Regions from separate parts of the Homo sapiens genome. Here regions 1, 3, 4 and 5 are each linked to region 2. The links are contacts of gene promoters, found by promoter capture Hi-C in blood cells and fetal thymus (Javierre and others, 2016). All regions are on one chromosome and are shown on one strand. Each heading gives the region's core, a stretch centred on a gene start or on the middle of the fragment in contact. The rest is flanking DNA. Distances are from core to core; before and after follow the strand shown.

What was found. Contacts are between HindIII fragments. The CHiCAGO score rates a contact against its expected background, and 5 or more counts as called.
Region 1: a contact is called between a fragment that was not itself captured here and the fragment with the promoter of C1orf115 in region 2, in 1 of 17 cell types (endothelial precursors). The highest score is 5.4, in endothelial precursors.
Region 3: a contact is called between a fragment that was not itself captured here and the fragment with the promoter of C1orf115 in region 2, in 1 of 17 cell types (megakaryocytes). The highest score is 5.8, in megakaryocytes.
Region 4: a contact is called between a fragment that was not itself captured here and the fragment with the promoter of C1orf115 in region 2, in 1 of 17 cell types (naive CD4 T cells). The highest score is 5.1, in naive CD4 T cells.
Region 5: a fragment that was not itself captured here is called in contact with the fragment with the promoter of C1orf115 in region 2 in 1 of 17 cell types (naive CD4 T cells); the score reaches 5.5 in naive CD4 T cells.

What each region holds. Positions count from the first base shown.
Region 1 is chr1:220,303,059-220,308,181 of GRCh38, forward strand. No RefSeq gene overlaps it. Among named protein-coding and RNA genes, the nearest start is that of RAB3GAP2, 33 kb to the left of the region's middle. The HindIII fragment of the contact is 3,814 bases long and covers 1,378-5,123 here.
Region 2 is chr1:220,688,132-220,692,668 of GRCh38, forward strand. It overlaps C1orf115 (chromosome 1 open reading frame 115), which reads left to right and starts at 2,232. Exons shown (of 2, transcript NM_024709.5): 1 at 2,232-2,580. The coding sequence starts at 2,272. RefSeq lists a silencer at 2,063-2,302. The HindIII fragment of the contact is 6,585 bases long and covers 1-4,537 here.
Region 3 is chr1:220,184,291-220,189,193 of GRCh38, forward strand. RAB3GAP2 (RAB3 GTPase activating non-catalytic protein subunit 2) reads right to left here. Exons shown (of 35, transcript NM_012414.4): 18 at 1,361-1,451. Among named protein-coding and RNA genes, the nearest start is that of MIR664A, 14 kb to the right of the region's middle. The HindIII fragment of the contact is 3,479 bases long and covers 1-3,118 here.
Region 4 is chr1:220,230,628-220,235,925 of GRCh38, forward strand. RAB3GAP2 (RAB3 GTPase activating non-catalytic protein subunit 2) reads right to left here. Exons shown (of 35, transcript NM_012414.4): 2 at 2,172-2,236. Among named protein-coding and RNA genes, the nearest start is that of SNORA36B, 33 kb to the left of the region's middle. The HindIII fragment of the contact is 4,769 bases long and covers 520-5,288 here.
Region 5 is chr1:220,265,777-220,270,490 of GRCh38, forward strand. The region is part of intron 1 of RAB3GAP2 (RAB3 GTPase activating non-catalytic protein subunit 2); the gene reads right to left. It also overlaps the pseudogene AURKAP1. Among named protein-coding and RNA genes, the nearest start is that of RAB3GAP2, 4.3 kb to the right of the region's middle. RefSeq lists an enhancer at 1,490-2,689. The HindIII fragment of the contact is 2,562 bases long and covers 1,950-4,511 here.

The sequences.
Region 1 (5,123 bases), core at 2,035-4,534, 380 kb before region 2:
CTTTCTACCATGTGACTGGTGAGGAACCAACGCTTAGACAGGGTAACTTGCTAATGGACACACCACTTATAGGAAGCACCTGGGACCTGAATACTAGTTAGTTTAGGCCCAGCATTCCCGTGCTGAGAGACTATCAAGTGCTAGATTCTCAACACCTGAGAAAGGCAAGACTTGAATCCGTAAGAGTGTGAGGAGTATACTAACAACCTTCAGAACCACAGAAGTGCAGACTCAGGCTCTGCAGCTATTAGAAAAGAAGCCCAGCTGCTGTTTCTGTCCACAGCATGTATTAGAGTATAAATAAATAAACTTTTCTTTGGAACATTGGTTTTCATTGTCTGTTGGTGCTTTCTGGGTCCAGCAAATTGTTTCACTAAGCTAAGTGTCAGAATTACAATAGAAAATACCACTATGTATATATTCTGGCACAATCTTCTCTCCGTTCCTAAGTTGGGAACCACTTTATTTGAAGCTAATGTTAAAAGCCTCTGGGTAGCCAGTGAAGGAAGGAATTTAAGCCTGCCTTGGATTATTCCAATGACAAGTATACTTTTTGACCCATGCCTCACTTTATAGTGAGAACTCAATATGCTGTAAGTGTTTATATCACCTACCCTCAGTTAAAACCTCTCACTTTTTCCTATCCTGATCACTAAATACTGGGGGTGAGGAGTTTTAGAATTGATAACACTACAAAAATTGTCCCTTTAAAAGTGTTGAATTAAATTTTATTATATATGCATTGAAAATATAAAGTCAAAAGTGAAAAATTCAGTTAATCAGACTTTTAGTTCCAATTATAATGAAGTAACTGGTATGGATTTACTTTCCTACAGCTAGTGACTATAAAACTGCACAAAATATATGAAGCGATTTTTCTGTTACTAAACATCAAACACTGCGACATTAAGCTTCTTGAGAAAAGGGGAAAATGCACAGTAACCTCCACATTCACCCTGGATGTCTGCTTGGGAATCATTTCCAAAATATGCCATAAGGAAAGGGAGCCAGAGAGTGATGAAAACAGAAATTGGAATTCAGGGATGAAATAGCTGAAATATGTATGACAAGGTACTGGGAGGGAGAAAGCTGCACGGAGAGGGAGACCTAGAATTCTGCAAGGGAGTCCTCTTCAATCTTTGGTCAAATACTAAGCTGCACATGTAGATAGGAAGACTCCATGAAATCGACTGGAGATCCTGGAGGATACACAGTGCTGGGGAAGCATTTAAATTCTAACCAATCAGAGTGAAGAGACCATTCTATATACTCTGAATATTTAGATGAGATCACAGAAAGGTTACACTTTAAGGGAAGGGCTAAATTAGTCCTCGAGTAAAGGTAACTCTTCACCTGGCCTAATACATAGTGAAACTAAGCTTCAGCAGGATTAAACTAAATCACCAGTTAACTATCTGCAAGAGCAATACTTAACAGTCTTAAAAGAAGACAGTAAAATCCGTTGTGTTATCTATAATGTCCAACTTGCAATAAAAGAAATTATTAATATGTAAAGAGATTAGAAAACAGGAACCATAATAGGGAGAAATGACATTCAGTAGAAGCAAACCCAGATATGGCACAGGTGTTGGAGTTAGCAAAGACTGTAAAATAACTTACAAATATGTTCAAGGGTATAACAGAAAATAAATAAAAAATGAATGATCAGATGGGAAATGTAAATACAGAAATGGAAACTATTTAAAAGAAGCAAGTGGAAGTTCTAAAAAAAAACATGAAATAAAAAATTTATTGACTGAGGTTAACATTAATTTGACCACTGCAGAAGGGAAAAAAATCAATAAACTTTAAAACACATCAATAGGAGCTAGCAAAACAGAAGCACAGAGAAAAAAAAATGACTGCAGAAAAAAAAGAACCAACTTCAGTGACCTTTGGGAAAATATTGAGTGGTCTAACATATTTGTAATTAGAGTCCAAGGCAAAGGAGAGACAGAAAAATGTGTTTGAAGACATTTTGACTAAAAAAAATTGAAATTTGATGGAAAATGTCAACCTAGAGATCCAACAGGCTCAACTTACCTCAATCAGGATAAACACAAAGAAAACCATACCATGCCCATCATAATAAAATTGCTAAATCAAAGATAATCTTGAAAGCAATTGGAGAGGAAGAAAAGATGTATTAAATACAGGACAACAATAATAAATATGGCTGCTGAACTTCTCATCAGAACTAATGCAAGACAGAAGACAACTGAATGACATCAATTGTACTGATGGGAGAAAAGTACTGAGAGAAAAAATAAACTATTAGCCTAGAAAGAAAATATGCTTTAGAAATGAAGGTAATAAAGATATTTTAAGGCTGAGAGTGGTGGCTCAGACCTGTAATCCCAGCACTTTGGGAGGCTGAGGCAGGAGGATTGCTTCAGCCCAGTAGTTCTAGACCAGCCTGGGTAACAAAGAAAGACCTGTCTCAAAAAAAAAAAAAAAAAAAAAAAAAAAAAAAAAAACAAAGAAAAAGAAAAAGAAAAGAAATAAGAAAAAGAAGATATTTAAAAAAAAAAAAAAGCTGACAGAATATGATACCACCAAACTTGTACTACAAGAAATGTTACAGTAAGTTCTTCAGGATGAAGGAAAATGACATAAACTCAAACCTAAATGAAGAACACTGTAAATAGTAAATATGTGAGTAATTATTAAAAAATACTTTTTTCTTGTTCCTTGAGGCCAGGAGCTGTGGCTCATGCCTGTAATCCCAGCACTTTGGGAGGCCGAGGTGGGCGGAACATTTGAGGTCAGGAGTTTGAGACCAGCCAACATGGTGAAACCCTATCTCTATTAACAAAAATATAAAATTAGCCAGGCATGGTGGTACACACCTGTAGTCCCAGCTACTCTAACATTGAGGGGGAAAATTGTTTGAACCCAGGAGGCAGAGGTTGCAGTGAGCTGAGATTGCACCACTGCACTCCAGCCTGGGCAACAGAGAGAGATTCTGTCTCAAAATAATAATAATAATAATAATAATAATAATAATAATACTTTTTCTTGTTCCTTGATATTCTAAAAGACAATAGACTGTTCAAAGTGAATATAATAATAATGTATTGTGAGTTTTATAACATATGTAGAACTAAAATTTTTGACAAAATCAACACAAGGAACACGGAAGTAGGGTTAAGTGACAGCCTTGTGTTGTTAGCTTTTTACATTACATGTGAACTGTAAAATGTTAATTCAAGGTAGAACAAAAAACAAACAAGAAGTATAACTAAAAAGGCAATAGATACAATTAAATATTTTATTAAATATATTGTATTAATATAGTGTATTAAAATGCTGTATGCTTTAATATTGTATTAAAGTATTAACTAATTCAAAAGATATCAGGAAAGGAGGTGTAAAAAGATCAAAGAACACATAGGATGAATAAGAAACAAACAGCAAGACTTAAATCCAACCATATCAATAATTACAATAAATGTAAATGAACTAAACCCATCAAGAGGCAAAGATTGTCAGATTGGATAAAAAGCAAGATCACATTGTATTTGTTTGCAAGAGATGTACATGAAATCAAAAGAAACATGTAGGTTAAAAGTGAAATGATAGAAAAGATATATCATGCAAACACTAATCATGAGAAAGTAGAATAAATAAGAAGAGAGACGGTTAATTAGAGAAAACAAAAACAATAAACTAAAAGGAGCATCCAACAGGTGCAATATTTAATTGTCATTCTAGATAAAGAGAACAGAGGAAATGAAAGTATATGATCAAAGAAGTAATAAGAGAACTTTTCCTAGATTTGAAGGACATAAATCTCCAGATTACAAAGGCCCACAAGTGCCTAATAAATAAGGAATCAAGCCAACTTTTACAACACCAGTGATAGAACACACTGTAAATCTTCAGAGAGAAAAATAGAATATATACATAACTTCTGGAATAACAATGGGACCAGACTTCTCAATCACTGGAATCGTAGGAAAGCAATGCCTTCAAAAGCCAAAGAAAAATTCTTTTCTTTTCTTTTCTTTCTTTTTCTTTTTTTTTTTTTGAGACGGAGTCTCGCTCTGTTGCCCAAGCTGGGGTGCAGTAGCGCGATCTCGGCTCACTGTAACCTCTGCCTCCTGGGTTCAAGTGATTCTCTTGCCTCAGCCTCCCAAGTAGCTGGGATTACAGGCACCCACCACTGCGCCTGGCTAATTTTTGTATTTTTAGTAGAGACAGGGTTTTGCCATGTTGGCCAGGCTGGTCTCAAACTCCTGACCTCAGGGGATCCGCCCACCTCAGCCTCCCAAAGTGCTGGGATTACAGGCATGAGCCACTGCACCTGGCCAGAAACATTATTTTCAATCTAAAATTCTACTCAGCCAAGCTATCAGTCGAGTCTGATACTAGATAGAAGACATTTTCAGACATGCAATGTCTCAAAAATTTACTTCCCCTTTCAAAAAGCTACTGAAGGATGGGCACCACCAAACAAGGGAGTAAACCAAAAACTAAGCAGCAAAGAAACAGAGGATATAACACCCGAATAAGGAGGAGAATTTGTAAGATGGTGGAAATATAAGTGTCCCAAGTTTCTGACTAAGCATCAAGCCTACAGTGTATCCAGCTCAGATTGGAGTAGGATGACAGAGCATACTAGGAGAGATGTCTCTAGGGATGAAAATGGATTTGATAGAGTATCCGATGAACTTGCAGAGAAAAAATGTTTCATGATGATGATTTCCAGGCTCCTTTTGCACTTATGAATCAGCAAGAAACATAATTCTGTCCGGTGAGATGCAAGCTGCATTCTATTGGGTGAAAATACTAGGAAAACTATTATTTTTCATTGAAAAAATCAAAGACTGGCTGGCACACTCGCTCTGTTGTCCTCACTCCTTCCTCCTGCTTGGAATGAGGATGTGGTATCTGAAGGACATAGAGAAACCATCTTGAGACCAGGAGAACAAAAACCACATACCAAAGATTTTGTAGGACAAGGATCAAGAATTCTGCAATATGGATGATATTATAACTAACAGAAGCAGTATTTCCCAAAGCACGGTGGGGAATGAGACCATTTTTTTATGGAACCGTACCCAGACATAGCATTAAATAGCCTTGTATTTTTAGTAGAGATGGGGTTCACACTAAAATTC
Region 2 (4,537 bases), core at 982-3,481:
GAAATTTGGTGGGGACATAGAACCAAACTATATCACCATTTGATAAGCAGCCTAGGGTTCTTTGAGGTCGGTTTTGTACAAAAAAAAAAGGGACTACAAGGGTCTCTGTTTGTTTATAAAGTAATAGTTGCTTTAGCAAAATTACAAATCTACAAATCTACTTTCTCTTAACCTTTTAAATTCAAATTACATACTGTTTTAAACTATTTACTCACCCGATAAAATTTTACAATTACTGTAAGGAGGCACTTTTACTGTTTAGTTAATTCTCCTAAACATTTCAAGCAACTTTTACAAATTTAATATTTGACTTTCTTTTCAAGTACTTCAATTCTATAACAAAACTCTAAGTAATTCTTATAAATATAGTAAGTTAAATTCATTTTCATACCCATTTCACCTGAAATTGAATTGTACATAAATTTTATATACTATTTTACATATAAAGACTCTATGTTTTTAAGATTAAATATAAGTCATTACTTATTACCTTATTACATAAGTTAAATAAAAGCGTAAATCAATTAGCTGATTACTTTTTTTTTTTTTTTTGAGACAGAGTCTCACTCTGTTGCCCAGGCTGGAGTGCCGTGGCACGATCTCCGCTCACTGCAACCTCTGCCTCTTGGGTTTAAGCGATTCTCCTCCTCAGCCTGCCGAATAGCTGAGACTACAGGAGCACGCCACCATGCCTGGCTAATTTTTGTATTTTTAGTAGAGACAGGGTTTCACTATATTGGCCAGGCTGGTCTCGAACTCCTGACCTCAGGTGATCCACCGCCTTGGTCTCCCAAAGTGTTGGGATTACAGGTGTGAGTCACCGCACCGAGCCACACATTTTCACTTTTTTAGAAATGGGGCCTACGTTGCTCAGAACTCCTAGCCTCAAGGGATCCTCCCACCACAGCCTGTGGAGTTGCTGGGATTACAGGTGAAAGTCACCATGCTGGCTCACATTTTAAGTTGGAATCACAAAACTAATTTCTTTTGCATCCTAGTGAACTAAATTGTCGTAAACATTGTATGTGCTTATACCAACATATACACGTTATTCTTAAATTTAATCACAAACTTTAATGTTAAAATATCAGTGTATCTAACAATCTATGTTATTTTATACCTAAGTATTTTTTTGAGATGGGATCTCACTCTGTCGACCCCTTTGGAGCGCAGTGGCACAATCATAGCTCACTGCAATCTCCACCTTCCAGGATCAAGCGATCTCCCTACCTCACTGGGACTACAGGTAAACTTTTGTATTTGTTTTTCTATTTCTAGAGATGAGGTCTCCCTGTGTTGCCCAGGCTAGTCTCAAACTCCCAGGCCCAAGCGATCCTCCTGAATAGCTGGGATCACAGGTGTGCGCCCCTACGCCTGGCTAATTTTTTTTTTTTTTTCTAGAGATGGAGGTCTCACTATGTTGCCCAGGCTGTTCCCCAACTCCTGGGCTGAAGCTATCCTCCCGGCCTCTCAAAGTGCTGGGATTACAGGCGTGAGCCACTGCTTTCGGCCCTTAATTCTACATTAGCCAGAATTCAAAGGCATTTACCCACTTAAGAAAATAGGGCACTCTCAGCTTGTTGAGATTCACAGTACACTGATAATGCTTATCTCACAGAGAGATATTCCTGAAAATCATGATTTTAAAGACTGCGCCATATGCTGGCATGTCTGCACCAGAATTTCCTTTGCGCCTCCCTGTTGGTTTGCTCCACTTTTTCACTGAGTCAGACCGTTGAACACCGTGGACACACTGTCTTGCGTTTCCGAATATTTCCTAGAATACGGACGTTTCCTAAGACTCACGATAAAGATTTTCTGATCGTCTCTCCAAAACCTTGCCACCAATTTGCACTCCCACGAATCCTGTTACCGTGACTATCTCGCCATGCCCTCCCTAGCACTGAGCGTGATCTCTAGTATCATTTTCCATCGTTGCTAATTTGAACATGAGCAGATGGAGTCCTATTATTTGGGGTCATTAATTTCGTAGCAAGTGCAGTTGAAGGTGTTTTGCATGTTCATTGTGCAGTGCGCGCCGTAGTCTGCACAGTTTGGCCGGCAGGTGGGATGAAGGGCGGGGCTGGCGGAGCGCGCCCGCCGCCTGGTAGGCCAGTTCGGAGCGGAGCCAACGCTATCCCGGGCCCCACGGCCAGGGGGCGCTGCGGCCCCCCCAATCCCCCGCCCCGTCCGGGCTGGGGCGGAGGAGCGGGCGGGGACCAAAGGTTGGTGTCTTTGCGCTCGGACCTTCGCCAGAGGGGCCGGGACATCATGACGGTGGGAGCCAGGCTCCGAAGCAAGGCGGAGAGCAGCCTCCTGCGCCGCGGGCCCCGAGGGCGAGGGCGAACCGAGGGGGACGAGGAGGCGGCCGCCATCCTGGAGCACCTGGAGTACGCGGACGAGGCGGAGGCGGCGGCCGAGAGCGGGACGAGCGCGGCGGACGAGCGGGGCCCGGGGACCCGGGGCGCGCGGAGGGTGCACTTCGCCCTCCTGCCCGAGCGCTACGAGCCACTGGAGGAGCCGGCGCCGAGCGAGCAGCCCAGGAAGAGGTACCGGAGGAAGCTGAAGAAGTACGGCAAGGTAGGGGCCCTGCGCCACCACTGCCCGGGGGGCGCGGGTGTGGTGTCCCGCGGGGGAGCGGGAGCCGGGTCCTTACCATCGACTCACCCAGTTTCTCCGGGCTGCACCTGCGACCCCTCCGCCCCCGCTCCCATTCCCTCGCCGGAGGGAAGCCGCGAGTTGCGAGTCGTGATAGAAACTTAAATCGGGGGTTGCGCTGGGTGGTCCCTGCTGTGCCTGCTATTGCGCTCCTGGCTTCTTAAGAACATTCTCAAGGGGCTCCTACCGCGGTGGTTTTTATGTAAGATCAGGAATCAGTTTCCTGATTACAGATGGGAATACTGAAGCGTTAGCGCGGCAGGTGACTTGGAGAAGGTGGCCCAGTTGGAAAGAAAGAAATTGCAACCCAGTGTATTTGTTTTCCAGTAACATCCCCTCCAGGATATCCCACTAGTTGAGAAATGTTTGGGTTACTCTCCCAAATATTCCCAAGGTTATTTCCCGAGCCTGGGAGCGCAACAAATACATAAATAGGCGCTCGTTGAATTTTTCTCGTCTAGCCAACTATCAGTGTACTCTGGGGCCTTCAAAACATTCTGCCGTTTGTCTCGGGGAGATGGGGTTAGGAAGAATGAATATGGGAGAAAATGACAGTTTCCTTCGCGGAAATCAAAGCGCAGATGCAGTTCCCAGGTGTCTCTGCATGGAAACAGTCGAAGCTGCTGCCGGAAGCTCTGCTGGCCTGGACAAGGCCACCCAGAATAAAGTCACAGAAGTTACTGTGTCCTGGCCAAAGGCCACGGGCCCCATCTGATTTATTGTCTATTTATCTGTGTTGCCCAATGCCGTCTTACACCTGAAGCCATTCAGTCTCCATGCCTGGGAGCTTAGGTTTATCATCCTCTTTAAAGGTATGTCAGCAGCTTCTGGAGCAGAATACAGGCAGGGGTAAAACTATAAAGTTGGGTCTTTCAGGCTTAGAGCCCTGCTAGGACGATTCATCTCTGCTTTGGGTCCCAGTTGAGCACAAAGAAGCCATCATGTCCCTCTCCATTGGTGAACTGATACTGCAGAAACCTCAGCTCAAGGACTAGGACTTGAAGATATTTTGGGGGCACTCATTATGCGTCAGGCATTGTGCTGAGCAGTAGAGATGCGAAAATGAATACAGTGCAGCCCTGCCCTAGAGAAGGGCACAGCCTCCCAGGGAGACACTGACATAGCTGGCTCCCCCCGCCCCCGGGGGGGCTTCAGGGCACAGAGCTCAGGCAGTTCACTCCTCAGCGGTGAGCTTGTAAACTCAGGGAAGTTTTCAAATCACGGTGACATGAAAACTGGGCACAGAAGGATGAGTTAAGATTTCACCAGATAACAGTGAAGTGGTATGAAGTAGGCACACTTCATCCCCACTAGAACGGCTACTCCAAAAAATGTCCAAACAAACCGAATAACAAATGTTGGCGAGAATGTAGAGAAATTGGAACCATTGTACATTGCTGGTGGGAATGTAAAATGGGACAGCTGCTGTGGAAAACAATTTGGGAGTTCCTTAAAAAGTTCAGTGTAGACTTATTCTGTGATCTAGCAGTTCCACTCCTAGGGATGTAACCAAAGAATTGAAAACAGGTACTCAAATCAATGTTTATATACACATTTTAATGGAATTATTATTTACAATAGTCAAAAGGTGGAAACAACCCAAATGTCCCTAAATGGATGAATGCATAAACAAGTGTGTTATATACATACAATGGAATAGTATTCAGCCATAAAAGGAAGGAAATGTACTAATCCATGCTACAATATGATGAACCTCTAAAAATATTATGCTAAGTGAAGTAAACAAGACCCGCAAGATCACATATTGTGCGTATGATTCCATTTGTATGGAATGCTTAGGATAGGTCAACCCATGGAGATGGAACACAGATTGGTGGTTGCCAGGGACTGCGGGAAAGAGGAATGGAGCCCATCTGCT
Region 3 (4,903 bases), core at 129-2,628, 500 kb before region 2:
CTTAAGCTATACCAGGTTTTGAAAGCAAAAATAATTTTTCTGTCATGACAAAATGTCTAACTTTTTAAATAAAATAAGATGCTCTAAAAGTAGGGAGATAAAAAAGGAAGCGGAAATATCTTCATCTAATACTTAAAATTTAAAGAAATTATCTGGAAATACCTTTGAAAATATTTTCCCTGACTACATAATTCATATACTGTATGAATATTTATATCTAATATAAAAGAAATATTTATTCTTTAAAAAGGGAGACACTGATAATCCCCTCAAAATCTTATTTGAAATACAGTATCATGGAATATTGTTCAAGTTCTTATAGCCATAATAAAACTGACCACACAAAATGATTAAAGTTTTTAGGAATCTTATGTTTATGTAGAACTTGAAACTGATGATTTTATGGAATTCCAACAATGGTGTTTGGTTTACTACCAGGCCAGTGGAAGATAACTTTTCATTTAATAAATTTTGGGATGTTGTGAATGCCTTGAGGGGTGGGAGGGCTTTGTAAGTATACCACGCTTTTTAAAAGAGGGATTTATTTCTGACAAGTGGTGTATGCTAAAGGAGTTCACTATTTGCCAATGTCAGTTTTATGTATCTGTTAAAAAAAAAAGGTTGAAAAAGAGTCTCAAAATTAGCATGTTTGAAGTCCTGAAAGAACAAATTATAATTTGTGTATTAAGCCACTTTAAGCTGTCTTACACACAACTAAAACACAAAGCTGGTTTTACATAATTAATATGACAAACAAAAGTCACAACTAGATGACATCAGTCCACTGCACACAATTTAACTGATGTTAGGAATTCAGAATAAAGTGAATTTTTACTAGTTCAGTTGGATGGAATATGGTGTTACAACCCCACAGTTTCAAGTTTCAAGTGTAATCCTTTTTCAGACAAATACATTTTGACGGACTGATGGATTTTAAAGAACAATGTGATAGTACAGACAAATTTTGAATATCAAAAAATGACCAGAAAATTCAGAAATAATAATCTGATTGTTGATTGTGATTCTGGAAGTCCTTAACTCTGTTCACGAGGGAAACTGATACACTGATAGAACATTAATACAAAGCTATATCAGAATAACCACTTATCATTCTATCCTGACATCTTTCCTCACAATTAAAAACAACTTCCCAATAACAGTCAATACATTCAAAGACAGCTTAGATGAAGATCAACTACATATATTAAATAGGGAATAAATAAGATTCTTAATTTCTTATATCTATATTACTTCCACATTAAAGTAACATGATGGTATCACAAAGTCAATAGCTTTCTATAATCAGAGTTACAAAATTTGAGTTAAGAACATAACCTCCAATCAGTACAAACCCTATTACCTTGACTTTTTAAAGTGTCCATTAAAGTCTGAGTGATGTTTCTAAGGCAAGAAAATGGTAAACGTTCACTTGCCAAAATGCTTTCCAAAGCCTAGGAGAAAGATATTGAACAGTTCTAGTAATTATAAGGCAGTGATTTTGTTTTTTAAATCTTATATTTATGCCCAAACTTTCACTACCCCAAATTTCAAAGGGAAGCTCTATATTTAAGATGTTTTAGTGTACATATATTAAATCTCAAGTTGCGTTGTTAAGTAATATACAATCAACTTCATGTCATGCCAAATATGACATAAATGACAAAAATCCAGGCTGAGAATAAAACAACTAGAAGGCAACTGCTACTTAACAGAATAGCCAAATCAAAACAGAAACAAAGATAAAGCTATTTACCAATAAGAAGAGTTTGAATATGCCTATACTATATAGGCATAAACGAAAAGCAGAGGTTATTGTCATGTCAATAACAAAAGCTGCCAAAAACTTAGTTATACCTTAATTATTGCATTTGTGCATGGCAGGCAGAATCTATAGGCCCTGCTAGATGAATACAGTACCCACCCTTCCCTACCTCCCTCTCCCCACCCCCATAGATATTTAAGATTCTTCATAACCAGTCCCAAAATATCTCTTCATGCCTAAAGTAGCAACTATCAGAAGTTAAAGGTCATATTTATCCTTTCATATTAGCACATTAAGTTGGGTTTTAATTAATGAGATTAAATAGTTCAAAAAGTAGGCTGAGAATGTGGGATAAGACAAATATCCGATCATAACACAATAACCTCTGCGTGTTTGTGGAGGAGAAATGGGCTTAGAGGGTGGCTCAAGATGTTGGTCAGGCCTATAATGAAGTAACTACCAGGAAACAATAAAGAAAGTGACTGTAAGAGGCCAGAACCCAGGACAAGCATAACCTGCTCCAGTTCTGCCTATGATTACCCAGGCTAGCAGCTAGCTTGTTTTCTTCCCCATTATTCAACAGTCTCCCAAAGCCTGAACTGGTTTCTTCCTTCCCTTTAGTCAGTCCTAGAAGACCTATAACTTTTGTTACTGGGTTTTCTAGCATTCTTTATAAAATTCACAGCTTCATACATGATTCAGAAGTACCATTAAAAAAAAGAAAATCAAGAAGACATTTTGCATTATGCTGGTTTCCCAATTTTGTTGTTCTATGATTTAGGATAAGAAGAAAGATGGCATAAAAATGAGAAGAACCGTGTGGGTTATGACCCTTTCTACTACAGATTTCTCAATATGCCTCTCTAGATGCCCACTTTGTCATCATCATGTCATCTCTAATAACAGAGACTTTACCCTGAGCAAAATGAGAGCCAATTAGCATTGTCAGTAGAATGGAAGACACAATTAAAAGTCACAAAGGCTTTTCTGTTCTACAATAACTCAATAAAGTGTTTTAAAAACGGACTGCAACAGAAATCACTATTCACTAAATTCTCCCATGTATCACTATTCACTGAATTCTCCCATGTATGTAGCTATAAAATAATAAGAAATATACATATTGGTCTATGGCCCCAGTACCTGACACAGAGTTCCTATAATTTCTTGAACAATGGGGGTGCTAGGAGTTTCTTTTGTTCTAGTGTTTGGTCTCTGTCCTAGTTCATCAGTCAGAGCTCTTAATCCCTTTGTAGACAGAGGTGCTAGGAGAACCTTTTGTTCTAACATTTGGTCTTTGACCCCCCATTTCTGATGGGGAGCTTCTAAGACCTCTGTAATTTCCTGGGTGATAGAAGCTTCTTTTTTTCTAATGAGGCCACTCATGGCAGGCTCCTGGAGAGCTTCAGAATAAGGGGGTGGTTACCAGTGGAACCAACCATGTATTTGAGGATTGAAACTTTTAGCCCAACCCCTGACCTCTGGGGAGCCAAGAGGAGCTGGAAGACTGAGTTGATCACCAATGGCCAATGATGTAATCAATCATGCTTATATAATGAAGCTTCCATCAACACCCAAAAGGACAAGGGTTGGAAGAGCTTCTGGATAGCTGAACGTGTAGAGGTTCCTGAATAGTGGCTTGCCAGGAGAGGGAATGGAAGCTCTGCAACCCTTCCCATATGATTTACTCTATGCACCTCTTCCACTTGGCTGTTGATCTCTACCCTCTGTAATATCCTTTATAATAAATGGGTAAACGTTCAAGTAAAACGTTTCCCTGAGTTCTGTGAGCTGGTCTAGCAAATTCATCAACCGCAAAGAGGGGGTCATAGTAACCCTAATTTATAGCTAGACAGTCAGAAATATAGCTGACAACCAACTACTTGTGACTGGTACCTGAAGTAGGTAGAAGTCTTGTGGGACTGAGCTCTTAACCTGTCGTGATGATCTCATGCTATCTCCAGGTAGATGGTGTCAGAATCGAACTGAATTAGAGAATAACCAGCTGGTGTTAGCTGGAGAATCTGCCAAAGAAATTGACTGGTGTGTGGGAAAAAAAAAAAAAACCCTACATCTAGTGGCAGAAGTGTCGAGTGACTGTGTAAGAGAAAAGAAAAAACCTGTGATACAGTTTTTTCTTACATTTTCACAGTAGCATTATTTTAGATGCTGTGAATTATAAAAATCAAGTATTTGGTAAGGTTCCTACTTGAAGGAGCTTAAAAGACCTAAAGAAAAAAAAGTCGGGGAAGCTATGATTAACATACATGAAATAATTAGAAAATAAGTAGTCATTAACTATCCAGTTTTGATTGAAAGTAGAGTAGGAGTTCAGAGTTATCCATGGGGATCGAAGCATTATGTAAGAATTTGTGGAGTTAGGACTTGAATAGCATTATGAGGGGTTTGGATAGGAGGAGTGGGAGTAAAAGAAATCACCAGTGGTGACCATATTATAACCACGAGCCTGGCAAAAAGTAAAGGTCTGGCAATACCATGGAATATTGAGGCTGTGGAGTAACAGGGACTCATACAGAACAGGTGGGAATATAAATTAGTACAACTATTTTGGGAAACAATTTGCCATCAACTAGTACAGTTGAAGAAGCTCACACCCTAGCAATTCCACTCTTAGGTATAAACGCCAGAGAGACTCTTGCATATGTGAATGAGGAAATATGTACATGGATAAGCATAGCATCATTTGTAATGTCAAAAATCTGGAAACAACCTAACCGTTCACTGACAGGAGTGTAAATAAATTCTAGTCAGTGAGCAGAATTTGTATGGCATAGTAAATGAATCAATTATAACTATAACTACATACACCAATATGAATGACACAGAAACATAATCCTGAAGGAAAAACTAAAGTCACAGAAGACATAGGGCATGACTGCATTTATATAAAGTTTGAAAAGGCAGGAAATGCATCAACAGGTTTCAAAGGAGCCACACAGGAATGACGTAACTATAAAGTAAAGAAAAAGAAAGAACCACAAAATTCTAAATTACAGTTACCTTAGGGATGGGAGAAGGGAATGGGACTGAGGGGGGACACTCAGGGCTCTTTAGAGTTCCTGGTAAGATTTTATTTCCTAAGGTAGGTGGTCATACACACATATTTACTATTTTATATAT
Region 4 (5,298 bases), core at 1,654-4,153, 460 kb before region 2:
CTGTTCTTTTCCTCATCCTCCCCAACTGGGTATGACACAACATCCCTCCAGTTATTCAAGCCAAATATCTGGCAGGGTTTTTTAAAAACTTCTTATTATGGATATTTAAAAATATTAACAAAAGTAAAGAGAATGGCATCTATTACTCACCTTTTGAGAATATCAACCTTTCAACAATCGTGTTTTATCTATTTCACACCACACCCCAGATCAAAGAATTTATTATTGATTTATCACCTTCCTCTCATCCTTCATAACCAGCTCACTGGAAAGTCTTATCATTACCTCTGAAAATTATCCAGAATTCATCCATTTCTCATCTTCACTAATACCACCTTAATCAAAGCCACAATCATCTCTCAACTAAGCTACTGCAACAGCCTTGTAATTGGTCTTCCTGCTTCTACTTTTGCTCCCTACTTCAACCTATTCCATAGAGCAGCCAAGGTGAGCTGTCAAAGTCAGAAATCAGGTAAGTGTGGTTTTCCATTGCATTTAGAATAAACACCAAATTCACAAAGCTTGACATCTGGCCTGCTTTCTTCTCTGCCCCATCTTGGAACAGTCTCAGTCCTGCTACATCACACTGGCCTTCTTTATGTCCCTTCAAACTCTCAAGCCCATTCCTGCCTTGAGACTTTGCATGAGCTGCTGCCCTGGCCTAGAATCCTGTCAGATTCTCATGTTGTTGACTCCCTGTTGCCTTTTAGATCTCAGTTTAACTGTCACAGCCTCTGAAAAAACTTCCTTAACCACCCAATCTATAGCAGTCACTTGCTATCACATTACCATTTGAATTATTTTTCATCCATCTTTCTTTTTTATGTCTCCCTCTCATAGAGTGTAAGCTCCCAGAAATAGGACTGTAAGAAGACCTATCTAATATTCATTCTTCTTTCTTAAAAAAAAAATCCTGATTTTGTTCAGGTATCAACTCCTTCCGTGTGGCCATGGGCCTCAGGAGAAGCTGACCCTCTTATCCTCTAACTCCAGGGAATAATATGATTCAACAATGAATATCTCATATCCCTTGCCAGTGATTAGTTCAGAAATGAGCATGTGGCCCAATCCTGGCCAAGAAGACATAAGGAAAAGTTTGCTAGAGACGTCTAAGAAAGTAGCTCCCTAACTCCTGAAAGAGTCATGAAAAGCCCAAGTCTTTTTCTCCCTCTACCCATTAATGAAGAAACATGTTGTCCACACTACATCTGTGAATGAAACAGGCATTAGGATGAAGCCAACACTGCATATACAAAGTAGACAGAATGAAATAACTTGACATATTTGAATTGCCTGATCAACCAACCCAGGATTCCATTCTATCTTTGGACTTCCTTCTATGTAAGCGAATAAATTTTCTTCATATTTAAGCCAATTAAAGTTAGATTTTTTTATTACTCATATGTGAAAATATACTAACATATATAGGAACTTTGTCTGCCTTGTTCCTTGCTATACTCCCAGCATCTAGAAAAATGCGTAGAATATGGTAGGTACAGCAAATATTTGAGTGAATAGTGAAAGAATATAAAAGAATAATTTATGAAAGATAAAGAATCCTAAAACAATTATTCTCCATTTAGCCCACTGCTATGGTTTGAATGTGCCCCCAAAAAACATGTGTTGAAAGTTTAATCCCCAATGCAACAGTGTTGGGAAATGGGGCCTAATGAGAGGTAATTAGGTCATGAGAGCAGAGTGAATAGATTAAGGACGTTAATGAGGGAGTAGGTTCCTTATTGTGGGAGTGAATTTGTTATAAAAAGAGGAGTATTGGCCCATGTTTTCTTCCCTCCCACCCTCTCCACCAGCCTCTGGTCCTATCACCTTCACCGTATTATGATGCAGCAAGAAGGCTCTTGCCAGATGCTGGCCCCTGATCCTGGACTTCCCAACATCCAGAACTGTGAGCCAATCAATTTCTGTTCATTATGAACTACCCAGTCTCAGGTATTCTGTTATAGCAACACCAAGTGAACGAAGACACCCGCTTTAGCTACAATGTCATTAAGTTCCTTAAGAAGAGGTATCTAGTTAAGTACTAATAAGTAAGCACAAAAATATTCTTGACATCGAATTTAAAATGTCAGCTTGACAGGGAAATATGTCACCATCATTACAAAAGGAAAATGCCACTATCAAAAAACATGCATATATTTGTAAAGACTTACAGGTTCTTGTGGTTCATTTTCTTCCCATGCTCCCCAACCATCATCTTCCCAGTCTGTTGATTTACCTGTTTTTAAAAAGATGAACAATGCTTGCATGAAATATAGGGCTTTAAATATCTTTAAAGCATTTTTTCTAAACATCATAGAACCAACCCCTGTATAATGCTGATATTAAGAAAGAAAATAAGGGTAAACTGTGTTATACCAGGATTTTGCTATATGTAATAACAATCAGAAAATATTTGACCTACTGAATTTCTAAATTTATATATTAGCAAAATTGTGTGCAAGTTATTAGTGAAATTGTGTGTGAGTTATCTGGATCTTAAGATATTGGACATCAAGTTAATTCACATTCAAATCAAGCTGCAAAGGTGACGTTTTAAAAATCTAAAAATGACAAATGTTTATTACTCAAGATACTGGACAAATATACACGGTGATAAAAAAAACACCTAAAATTTCACAGATGTCTTAAAAAAGTAACTTGCTTTTTGATAAGACTAATCATCAATGGAAAATAAAACTGAATTTTGAAACAAGACAAACCTACTATTCTGCACCCTTTTCTGATATTCTGTGATTTCTTATATGTTGGATCGTCCTCTCAGAGGAAAATAAGACGGTCAACAACAATGCAACAAGGAATGTAAAAGCCCAGATAGGTTTGGACAGTATGTTCCCTTACAAGGTCCAGGTGACTGGTTTTTACATAGTCATCTTTTAATTTATCAGAAGAGAAAAAGCTATCATTTTTGAACAACTACTCTGAGACAAGCATGAGATACTTTGTATGCATTAATAAAGTACAAATAAAACTTTAGGCCCCAGAATCACGCTGCCTAAGTTTTATTTGAACTTTATCATCTTTAAAAATTTAATTTGAGGCAATACATATAAAGTGTATGTGTTTTTTTTTTGAGATGGAGTCTCACTCTGCTGTCCAGGCTAGAGTACAATAGCGCAATCTTGGCTCACTGCAACCTCTGCCTCCCGCGTTCAAGCCATTCTCCTGCCTCAGTCTCTGGAGTAGCTGGGACTACAGGCACCTGCCACCACGCCCGGCTGATTTTTGTATTTTTATTAGAGACAGGGTTTCACCATATTGGCCAGGCTGGTCTTGAACTCCTGACCTCAAGTGATCCACCCACCTTGGCCTCCCAAAGTGTTGGGATTACAGGCGTGGATCACCACGCCCGGCCTTGAGGTAATACATATAAAGTATTGAATGCTTGTTCAAATCCTGATCTAGCACTTACTGTCTCTGTGACCTAGTGCAAATTACCCATCTAAACTTTAGTTTTTAATCATAAAGGCATGGAAAACATGACTACCTCTATCTGGTAGGGTTGTTGTAAGGACTTACACCAGATAGCATACTAAAGTCCTCAGTGCCTGACACATACCAAGTTCTCAATGCTGGTCAAGGTTTAGCTAAATAAAATATTATATTTAAGCAATCAGCTTTAAAATTCTGGGGGGAAAACAATTTAAAAGATGGGACTGATCCTGATGGCTTACAGCAGGAAGCAAATAGATTCACTTATATACGAGGTTTTAAAGGTTGCTGAAATCAATTACATACAGATGATTAAAGAATTTGTTATAGTCTAGTACTTGGAGTCATTGTTCAATTAGCTTTGTAGTAACAGTCTAATCTTCTGTACTTAAATGCCAAATAATTACTTCCTAATAGGTATATATTAAGTCCTAAAATAGCACTATCATTTGATTAACATTGCACAATTTATAGAAGAGTTCCATATACAAGTCAATTAGCAATTTAACAAATACTCTATTAAACACCATGTGGCAAATCCTGTAGTAGGAGCTGAGAAAAGTACAAACATACTCCTTGCCCTTGAAGAATTCATGATCTACTGTAGAAGGCAGACAAACATGGAACCATAATATATGGTGAGTGCAGTAATGGACTACTAATGGGAACTTGGATGAGAAAGTAAGAGATGGGGAAAAAAATACAATGAATAGTTAACTTAAACTCAGTCCTTAAAAAGTAGCTAGAAAGGCTAGGGGAAAAAGTCAACATGAATGAAAGAGGCAGAAAGATGCAATGTATATGACGACTAACATGTATTAAACATTTCTGTATGCCTAAATGCTTTATAGACATTATTAGTTCATTTAAACATCACAGGATCCTTTATTGTCCCTATTTTACAATGAGAAAACAGATTTCTTGGAGAGTTTAAGTAGTTCGACCAAAATCACACAGGAGTAAGTGGCAGAGTACAGTGTGAGTTCAGGTCTGAGTTCCAAAACCCATGCTCCTAAGTATTAGACTACATGTACTCCTACTATGCCTCATGAAGGGTAAGATTAGGGAAAAGTGGAGTTTACAGTTAAGGCCAAAAGTAAGAAGGTTCTTATTTAAAAATAGAAACATTCCCTTGATATTGCAATTTAGAGATATTTTTAACTTGGAAAATTAGCTTGTTTTTTGGCGATTTAATTCAATTAAGCAATCTCTTTATTTTGCTAATTTTTCCATTGCACCAGAAACAATTGTCTTATTGTGAGTTTAAGGCAGGCAACAAGGCTATCCCATTTAAAGTTTCAGAATATGTATTATCTCTTACATTAGAAAGCAAAGAATCTAAAAGAGCTTATTACTATAAAGTTCATGATTCAATTTTTAAATTGCTATAAAAATAATGTATATATCAAATTACCACAATCTCGAAAAGACCATGCAGAATTTAGACTCTTCAGGAAGGCTGTAATCATTCATGCATTCAACAAACACATCTTTTATGTTCTGGGAACTGTGCTAAGTGCTGGAAATATAAAAGCAAATAAGCCTTCAAAGAGCTTAGTTTGTGTACATAACCTCTGTTGAATGTGTATAAAATAAACTATAAAAAGTGTGTTATTTCTCCTCCATATTGGTATAAAAAGTACCTGACTCAATTCACAAATGACTCATATAAGCAAATAGAAGACAGCAGTAATTTGGATTTCCTACCCCTGCAGAGACCCAGTATCTCTCTATGCCACAATTCAGAACCTCCAAGAAAAGAAAGACCTTGAGAAATACTTTATACAAGATATTTAGGTTTATGAAGGTTTACCCATTCTCAATGCCCCTGACTGGAAAGCTTCTTTC
Region 5 (4,714 bases), core at 1,981-4,480, 420 kb before region 2:
TATCTGGGCATGGTGCTGCATACTTGTAGTCCTAGCAACACAGGAGACTGAGGTGGGAGGATCCCTTGAATCCAGGAGTTTAAGGCTGCAGTGAGCTATGATCATGCCACTGCACTCTGGCCTGGGTGACAGAGTGAGGCCCTGTCTCTAAAAAACAAAAACAAAACAAACAAAAAAGCCACAAAGCAGTAAGACCAGACTTCATGTCTTAAGTAGATAGTATTTACTTTATAAAAACAAAATTTAACAGTTGTCATTAATGTAAACATTGGGAAAGGGTAGGGTTCAGCATCTTTTAAAGCTACAGAGGACAGTCTTCTTTTGTAATTAAATATACAAAGTAACATAAAGTCATACTTTGATAATTCAAATATAGAAGAGAGTGGTATCACTATATCTCTAGCAGCTGTCCACAGTAAAATAAAAGTACTTTTTTTTCTGTACAAATATCTTTATTTTCCTACTTAAAAAGAATCACGTACTCAGTCCAACAGCTTTACCAGGCTTGGCCAACCCAATAAGTTACACACTCACTCAGGTACTTGGAAGGTTATTGGACAGCTCCTTAACCGATCGAGTCAGCACAAAGTGGTCACTTTCCCCATAGCCAGACTCTGGATTTGCCTCCTGGGAGGACACCATGCCTGGCACAGACTGATGGGGTGGCTGCAGTCGAACCTTGCCTCCAGATTATGAACCAGTATAAGTAGCACAATTCTCGTGGCTACTTTCACTTCAGAGTGTCATGTTTATTGATGTGGAGCTTTCTGAGTAGGGAGGTTAAGGCACACCTGCTCAGTAAAACAAATATTTCTTTTAGTGTTCTAGATTGAGGGCAGCAGTCAATGGTAAAATAAATTTTGGTAGCATGTTCCTGAGAGGTTATACAGCAGCCCTGGCTCAAGGATTTCTCCCCCTGCACGATTCCTAAGAATACTTGCTAGTTGATTCTTTGTTTTGGCAATTTGATGGTTTTGATGAATTTGCTGTGATCCAGGGGTATTCAAGTACTTCTCTGAGCATTGGCCTCTGGCTGGGAACATGCTTCAACAGTCTTGAAATGAGGTCCCTGGCTCCCTCTGTTACAAAGTCAGGGAATGTGAATTCTCAACCCGTGATATTCTTTTGTAGGTCTCTTGGTATGTATTTGCCTCAAAAGGAGGCTTCCCAACTAAAAATTCACAGCAAAGAACTCCAAGGCTCCAGAGATCCACCTTCTCATCATGCATCCGACCTTCAATCATTTCGGGGGGCAGGTAGTCCAGGGTGCCACAGAGAGTGGTCCTCCTGGAAGATGGAGCATGTTCTGACCACCCAAAATTTGCAATTTCAAGCTCTCCAGCTGATCCAAGAAGTAAGTTCTCTGGCTTAATGTCTCTATGAATAACTGTTTTTGAATGACAGTAAGACAGGGCACTTGCCAATTCTGTGATATAAGTAGCAGTTCTCTGCTCATCAAACTTTGAAAGTTTCTGAAGTTCTGTATTGACTGTTTCAAGTGGTGTATATTCCAGAATTAGGTAGACTCTGGTGGCATCATGGAAATAACCATACAGTCTGATTATATTAGGATGTTGGAGGTGGGACTGTATTTCTACTTCTCTTCTGAGTTGATGCTCCACTCCTGCTTTCTCCAGCTGAGCTTTAAATAACACCCTAAGAGCCAGAATAAACTTGCTTTGTTTTTCTCTTGCCAAATAAACATTACCAAACTTTCCTTTACCCGGAGGGCGACCAATTTCAAGGTCTTCCAAAGCCCATTGCCTCTTTTTGATTCTTCATTTTTCTGTTTTGATGCCAGTTCCTCCTCAGGATTATTTTCAGGTGCCGACAGCGGGGACTGCTTGCTGTTTTGGGTGTTATTCAGTGGCCTGGAGGCAGGATGAGGTACACTGGTTGCCTGCAATTGCTTCTGCTTCTGATTCTGAACTGGCTTGTGACTGGAGACAAGCTTTTGTGCTTGCAAAGGAACACGCTGCGAAGAATTTGAAGGACACAAGACCCACTGAGCCTGGCCACTATTTGCAGGTAATGGATTCTGACAAGGAAATTGCTGAGTCACGAGAACATGTTCTGGACCTCCAACTGGAGTTTTAGCCTCAACAGGCCCTGAAATGCAGTTTTCTTCAGATTGGTCCGTGATGCCTATGACCCAAGGACCTGAGTCTTCCAAGAGCTCAGCCCAATAAAAGCACTTTTAAACCAACTGATACACCTCTATAATTCACAAGTAATTGAGGTGTTTTATGTTTTTACATATCCTCTAGAGATGAGCTAGGTTAAGAAATTACAACTATATCAGCTAAAAAAATTTAAGATGATCTCATGATTTCTGCTTCCCAATAAACATTTATAACATTAATAAATAAAGTGAAGAAAAGCAAAGGCAAATACCATCAGCAGTTTAAGTCAGGTCCTATTTACCTGCTCTGCTAATGTCATTTTTTCTCTGTAAAATTTCACTGTACAAAAGTTTACGTTCAAAACTCTTTATATTACGGCTTGGCCTAGACTATCTTAAAAGTGCTCAGAACACTTACATTAGCCTATAGTTGGGCAAAATCTTCTAACACAAAGTCTATTTTATCATGAAGGGTTGAAAATATCTCATGTAATTTCTTGAATACAGTACTTCTTGAATACCGTAGAGTACAGTCTCTCATATTTGCTGCTGCTACCCACCATCACAAAAGAGTATCTTACCCATTGTATCACTAGCTCTGGAAAAGATCAAAGTGCAAAATTTGAAGTATGGTTTCTACAAAGTACACATTGCTTTCACATTACTGTAAAGCTAAAAAATTGGAAGCCAAACCATCATAAGTCTGAGATCATCTGTACAGGTTTTACAAAGGGGCTCACTGGTGAAGAGGTCCATTCTGTTCATTTTCTACATGAACTGATCATAGCCACAATAATATCAACATACATAAACTCAAGAATTTGATTTAGAAGAGAAATACATTAAACCATATTTATAAATCTATAGGTATAGTGCAAATTAATCTAGATGTTTGGGGTGTATTTATATCCCCAACTGCCTATGTAACTTGGACAAGTATTCAATCTGTATGTACCTGAGTTTTAGCACCTATAACTGTGCCATACTATATTATAGGCATTAGCCACTTTGGCTACTTAAATTTAAATTAATTAAAATTAACTTGAATTTTAAAAATTCAGTTCCTCAGTTGCACTGGCCACATTTCACAGGCTCAATAACCACATGTGCCTAGAGGTTACCATACTGGACAGTAGAAATATAATGATGAAAATAAACAGGATGATATGATTGAGAACAACAAGTAGGAACAAGGGGGTTGTATTGACTACTTTAGATCTAGATCAGGTGGTCAGAAAAGGCTGCCCTGAGTTGACATTTGAGCTGAGACTTGAATGACAAGATGCAACTAGCATGCAAAGATCTGCAAAAAGCATCCAAGGCATAGACAACAGTGAGGGCAAAAACCTTAGCCACAAATGTGGTTGGCTGGTTTAACAACAAAAAAGAGCGTCTGAAGCATAAGAAATAAGGGGAGAGGTGTATAAGGTCCAAGAAATGGCAGGAAGCAGAGTCTCAAGGGCCTTATACACCATTTAAGAACTTTGGATTTTACGTTAAGTGCAATCAAAAACCATTGAGTGTTATTAAAAGGGCAATGTTAGGCTGGGTGTGGTGGCTCATGACTGTAATCCCAGCACTTTGGGAGGCCAAGGCAGGTGGATCGCAAGGTCAGGAGTTCAAGACCAGCCTGGCCAACATAGTGAAACCCCATCTCTACTAAAAATACAAACATTAGCCGGGCATGGTGGCGCATGCCTGTAGTCCCAGCTACTCAGGAGGCTGAGGCAGAAGAATTACTTGAACCCAGGAGGTGGAGGTTGTAGTAAGCTGAGATCATGCCACTGCACTCCAGCTTGGGCAACAGAGTGAGACTTCATCTCAAAAAAAAAGGCAATGTTGTGATCTAAATTATGCCTTAAAAGCTCACTGTAACTACTGTTGAGAATTATTACAGGAAACCAAGAGCAAAAGCAGGAAGAATTGCTAGAAGAAGACACATATCATATCATAGCCCAGGTTGAGAAAAGATGGTGGCCTGGACCAGGAGAGTGGTAGAAGGATAAAGAAAATCTGTTCCTTTTTTCTACATTCCCTATCTACAATCCTGCATCTGCTATCCTTCACAGCCAAGCTCCTTGAAATAGTATATTTCACTTTTTAACCCCTTATCCTATAACTATGCTTTCTGCCTCCACTATCCTACTGAAACTGTCCTAAGGTCCAAGTTACCTCCACCTTCTCAAAACCAATAAGCATTTTTCTATCCTTTTCTTACCTGACCCCTGCTGCATTTGCAAAACTGCTGACCATTCCTCACCCTCATCAAGTTCTCGCCTTCCTCAGCTCCGAGGGCCTTACTCTCACATGATTTTCCTCTTTCTTTTACTCCTTCTCAGTCTTCTTCCCAGTAACCTCTACTTGACTTTTAAACACCAGTGCTCCTCTAAGCTTACAGCTTTAGTACTCAGTGCATTTCACAACATACATAATCCTTGAGACTGAACTGACACTTTTTGCTGTTAGCTCCCCAATTAACATCTCTGGCCCAGTACTCCCTACTGTTTAGACTATCTATATCTGGTGTTCAACCAGATGTCCTTACTTGGACATACCATAAACATTTAAAATGCAAAAGGTTGAAAATCTGTA